Linked DNA regions of Homo sapiens: region 1 is linked to region 2. Evidence: promoter capture Hi-C in human tissues and cell types (Jung and others, 2019). All regions are on one chromosome and are shown on one strand. The core of a region is centred on a gene start or on the middle of the fragment in contact, and the rest is flanking DNA. Distances in the headings are between cores, read along the strand shown. Region 1 overlaps BUB1 (BUB1 mitotic checkpoint serine/threonine kinase). Region 2 holds the start of BUB1 (BUB1 mitotic checkpoint serine/threonine kinase).

Evidence for each region. The method cuts DNA at HindIII sites, captures the fragments that hold promoters and counts their contacts. A contact is called where the count stands out against the background at its distance.
Region 1: a fragment that was not itself captured here is called in contact with the fragment with the promoter of BUB1 in region 2 in 1 of the 25 tissues and cell types used here (pancreas).

What each region holds. Positions count from the first base shown.
Region 1 is chr2:110,638,696-110,641,395 of GRCh38, reverse strand. It overlaps BUB1 (BUB1 mitotic checkpoint serine/threonine kinase), which reads left to right. Exons shown (of 25, transcript NM_004336.5): 22 at 1-89; 23 at 191-362; 24 at 1,548-1,654. Among named protein-coding and RNA genes, the nearest start is that of SNORD132, 18 kb to the left of the region's middle. The HindIII fragment of the contact is 3,511 bases long and covers 1-2,700 here.
Region 2 is chr2:110,676,663-110,679,362 of GRCh38, reverse strand. It overlaps BUB1 (BUB1 mitotic checkpoint serine/threonine kinase), which reads left to right and starts at 1,300. Exons shown (of 25, transcript NM_004336.5): 1 at 1,300-1,393. The coding sequence starts at 1,368. LOC105373554 (a long non-coding RNA gene) reads right to left here and starts at 1,151. Exons shown (of 2, transcript XR_923189.4): 1 at 766-1,151. RefSeq lists enhancers at 281-370, 631-690, 203-1,123, 1,124-2,044 and a silencer at 1,201-1,600. The HindIII fragment of the contact is 12,584 bases long and covers 1-2,700 here.

The DNA.
Region 1 (2,700 bases), core at 194-2,693, 38 kb after region 2:
ATGAGAATGCTTTACATGATTGAGCAAGTGCATGACTGTGAAATCATTCATGGAGACATTAAACCAGACAATTTCATACTTGGAAACGGGCAAGTGTTATGCTTTTAACAGGGTTCTTCTCTTCCTATTTCCATAGCAGCCTTTCATCATTTGTGCTCATGCAGCCTGGCTTTGTTTGTGTTTAATATAGATTTTTGGAACAGGATGATGAAGATGATTTATCTGCTGGCTTGGCACTGATTGACCTGGGTCAGAGTATAGATATGAAACTTTTTCCAAAAGGAACTATATTCACAGCAAAGTGTGAAACATCTGGTTTTCAGTGTGTTGAGATGCTCAGCAACAAACCATGGAACTACCAGGTATAAAACTAAAGTGAGGGACTTGGAAATATTTTTCTGTGTTGCGCTTATCAGATTTTCAAAATGAATTTGGGGATCTAGGTAGTTTGAGGTGGTCTTTTGAGGAGCAGTTGAAGGAGAGATGAGCCTAAGGCCAACATGGCAGGGATAGAATTCTATTCCTGAAGAATACTCTGCTTTCTTATTAGTCCATTATAGATCCTGTTATCAGGAAAGGGGGGCAGATATATTCTGTGAGTTTGATCATAGGGAAGAGTATTTAATGATTAGTGAACCCTTCAGAAAGGAAGTCATGCAGCAAAGAGACAGCTTGGTTTATTGAGATCAAGGTAGGCCAGCCCAATTTCCTAAATCAGGGATAACAGGGAGACCTGCATGCCCACTCCAGGCAGAGTTGAGCACATGTTGGATATACCTGGGATGCTCTCAGGCAGGATGGTGGGTTTGACTGTAATAGATGGTACAGCCAGATTCCTAACTGGCCAGATCAAGAAATGGATCATTATTATTCTAATGGAAGACTGCTGAATTTTCAACCAACTAGAATATTAGGTGACCAGGGAGGAGAATGCTAATTGGGATAAATGAAATATTTTGAACCTGGGTTTAACAAAACCAACTGCCAAGTTCCCTGGTGAGAGCTATGTCTTTCCAGGAGCCCATGGTAAAAGGGGCAAAGATTTGGTGGGGGTGGGGAGGGGTCTTGTTTCTGGTATGTTGTCACTGCTAGTGAGGCCTTAGGAGATGGTCATCTTCTATCCTGTGGATGTGGATGGGGCTGGAGTGTTCTTTTCAATTATGAACATATCACACAACAAGAGGCCATGGGGGCGAGTTAGAGAACTACGACCAGAGTCCCAGGGGAGTGAGCTGGGAGGACTTCCAAGCTGTCTATGTGGAAGAGGGCTTAGAGTGTTGTGTTTGTCCTCTGTGTGACAGAATGAAGGACTTGAGAGGGACATGGTAGCTCAGGAGGGCAGAGCTTTTCAAGAGACTGGAAGCCTGTGGCAAAGCCTAGATATTCAGTAAGACATGTTAGTGGGGCGATTGAACAAATGCCTTCCAAAATGTTTTAAAAGTAAAATCCTGTGAGTATTTAACTTGCTGCCTAAGTTAGACAGGCATCTTGATATAGTCATGTGTAAATTACTATTTAAGTCATATATACCTCTATCTTCTTCATAGATCGATTACTTTGGGGTTGCTGCAACAGTATATTGCATGCTCTTTGGCACTTACATGAAAGTGAAAAATGAAGGAGGAGAGTGTAAGCCTGAAGGTCTTTTTAGAAGGTGAGTATTAGCATTGGTGCTGTAGTGAAAAGAGAATAACTAAAGTAGAATGTTGGGTTCCATCTGGCAAAAAAAAAAAAAGGATCTCTGCCACCGCATGGAAATCCTATGCCTTGGGCAATATGGTGACAGGACAGTCCTGGGCACTGGGCACAGGGAGCAAGCTGCATAGCTTTACCACTTCTCTCTCCCCACTGGGGCAGCTGATGTCCTCACTGAAAGCTCCTGGCCAAATGGTTGACATCCTGTACACACGCAAATGTTTCCACCCCTAATCACCTAATGTCACTGGACCTCAGGTTCTCACTGGTTTTTTCTTTTTTCTTTTTTTTCTTTTTTTTTTTTTTGGTCTATGGAAATACTGATCCTATTTTTGTCAGATATTTGTAAGAAGCGAAGGAAATAGTGTATGTGAAAGTGCTTCATAAATTATAAAGTAATATGAATAGCTCTCTCTCACAGGACAGTCCTAGCCCTGTGTTTCTTGGGCTTCTCAAAGATTTTTTTTTATCTATAAATCACAGTGAAAATTCATGATTAGGCAAGAGCTCTTCCTGTCAACATGGATGGCTCTCCTAACACAATGTGTGAACAAACTGTTGGAATGTTTTGTTTAAGCTGAGTATTTGGTACCTGCATATTCATTATATCACTTATACTTTCTTTTTTGAGGCATAAAAACATGCAGAAAAGTACACTCATCTTAAGTGTACAGCCTAATGGACTTTTACATATGTTTATATCTTCTTGAGAAAACGTAAGAGTAGGAACCTCATCTGTGAACCTCATCTCCCCCAGCCCCCACAAAAAAAAAAGAAAAATGGCAATAATTTTATGAAATGTCATATACTGTACATAAGTAAGGTTAGGTTCAGGCCCTGGAGGAAAGCTTATAACAACTATTCTTTATTCTGCATAATGAGCCCTCATGTTTAGTAAATACTTTATTCCATCTTTGGCTCAAAATTGAAGGAACAGATAGTTTCATCTCTGACCACCAGTGTGAAGAAGAGCTGGAAGTTAACCCTCAGCAGGCCTGATGGCAT
Region 2 (2,700 bases), core at 51-2,550:
GAAAAGGGGAGGTGGTGGAGAAGAAGCTGGGAGGGACAACAGGAGAAGTGGTGGTCTCATTCCATAGTATAAGCACATTTTTTCCAATAAGTCAACCTTAGCTTACTGTAACTTTTTCACTTTATAAACTTAGTATTTTAACTTTTCAAAAAACAAACAAACAAAAAACAAAAGAAACATCAGCCTATTACATATTTCCTCTTTAGACATCTGGACTCCTCTACAAAGAGGTGTCTATTTTTGATTTTATGGTGTCTAAGAACTTGGTCTCCCAGAGTGCCCTGTCCCCCAAAAGATGTTCAAAGCTGGCATTCTATAATCTACCCAAACTCTTCTGCTTTTGTGTTAATTACAGCTGGCTGCAGAGAGAGTCCAGTCCCGTGAGCCCCATCTTCCGCTTGAAGCTGTTTGACAGGTCCCCTGTGTGGCTCAGGGCCCAGCCTTTCAGATCAGTTCAATAAAACCCAGGGGTCTACTCCAAGGACACTAACCCATCACTTTCCAGTGCCTCGTATAATTACGCAGCCGACCCTAGAACGCCCTCCCCGCCTCCACGTCCCCTCTACATGAAGGCGCTAAGCCCAAAACTCCTCAGGTTTTTCCACAGGCCGTCGTCACTCCCTCTTTGCCACGGCGTTTGAGATTCTGGGCTAAGACTATTGGTTTCAGCATCTGGGATGTTTTCTCACAGCCGAGGACGCTGAATAGAAAACTGCCAGAAAGCGGGAGGGGTCCCCGGCAGCAGGTCCCGTTTTTTCTCCCCACCTGCCTCCCGGGTGCTGCGGCTTCCGCCACGACAGTCTCGACCCTGCACACGGATTTTTTTCCTCCGTTCCATGAACCAAACATAATGATTCTGGTTTACATATTTAAGCGAAGGGGAGAAGAAACGCGACTCTCAGGACCCAAGGGCTGAGGCAGGGTTTTTCTGTCTCAAAGACCTCCAGTTAAGACATTTTTCTCCTGCAAAGCCTTTCCTACAATGATGGCTTAATCGTGTAATTATGTAAACCAGTCACAACCTGGATAGCTAAAACAAAAAAACCAATTCCCTACGCCCGAGCCAAGCCTGCTCCCCCTCGCCGTGCCGCATCCCAAACACCCCGCGCTCGCTCAGCCAACGGCCAGGTTTCGGTTCAACCGAAAACCACGGGAAGTGGGAGGAGCTACTGGCTCAAGGGAGGGAGGTGGGACTTGACCTCCGAGCAACGGCCCCGGTGATTGGCCAACCTTCTGCCGCCGCCACCAATGGGCAGGCGCCCTGAAACGTTCGGCGAGCCGACTGCGGCTGCGCGGGGTATTCGAATCGGCGGCGGCTTCTAGTTTGCGGTTCAGGTTTGGCCGCTGCCGGCCAGCGTCCTCTGGCCATGGACACCCCGGAAAATGTCCTTCAGTAAGTGTCCGTCTGGTGGGGTGGGGAAGCCCAGGGGGCTGGGGCGCCTGGGGTTCGGGCCCGGCCCGCCCCAGACCTGCCTTCTTTTGCCCCCTTCGCCCCCTTCCTGGGTTTGGAATGTGTCCCACCCAGCAAGGCCGTGGGCTGCTTGAGAGCCGGGGAGGGCTCCGGCACCTTGGGTTCCGCTGAGGCCCGGCGCTTGTCCGCCCATCTGCGCCGCGGTGGCCGTTTGGAGCAATCTGGATAATTCGTTAGGCCCTCAGAGCTCTCGTTTATTCTTTGTAAGGAATCCCCTCCTGACAGTTCAACCTAACAAAAATCCTGAACCTTGTGTTTAGATTTTGTGATACGTTTTCAAAGTCACGTATTTAACAATTCGACTACAGTAGGGAACGAATTTAAAGTTGCTCTCCTATCCATAATCTCACTGCTATTTTTTAAAAGTCTTTGAATACAGGGTACTTTAAGAAAAAAAAATTGAAAAAAAATAGCTTTGCTCATTATTGAGTGATGTGTGCCAACCTGCTAACATCACTCACTTTTTACTTAAAGTTCCCACGCCTTTGTTTTATGACTTAGATGATTTACCCAGACTGTTACTTAAAGGCATTTAAAACAATTAAGTCATAGGTTCAGGAAGTAAAACTGGTCCGTTTTATCAGTTCTTTGCGATCAGAAGACCGAGATTGTTAAATGCAGTCAAAACAAAAATCCATTTGCTCTAAGACTTTTTCTGTAACCTTCAACCTAGCCAGCAAATTATTTTCTTTCAGAAGTCCCCCGCCCCTTTTTTAAAGGTAAAGCAGATATTCCTGGTCCTGTTTTGACTTACTAAAGATTAATGTGCTTTAATGAACTGGATGTTTTACTATTACAGTGCATTTAGGTCATTTTACTAGAGAAATGTGGTTGGTGTTAGAATATGAAATGTTTACCTTGGGCGAGCCTACTAGACATATTTTGGAAGAAAGGTTCTGAAATAGGGATTTGTCCCTCTGCTATAAGACATGAGAGACATTCAAACTTCAGAATTATTATTTTTTTTAGTTTTAAAAATAAGCAATGCGTTTATATGACTAAAAGAAGATTTAGAACAGTATTTACCGAGAACTCCTGTACCTGACTACTGTCCCACTCTGTCACATGTAACCGTTTTTCTAGTTTCTTTTTGGAAATATAAATATTTACATTATTATAATATATTAAATGTCTGCACGTTTGTATACATTTTTTGCCTTTACCACACATAAAATATAACAGTATATATATACGCTGCTCTTTTGCCTAACAATATCCCTGGAGATCTC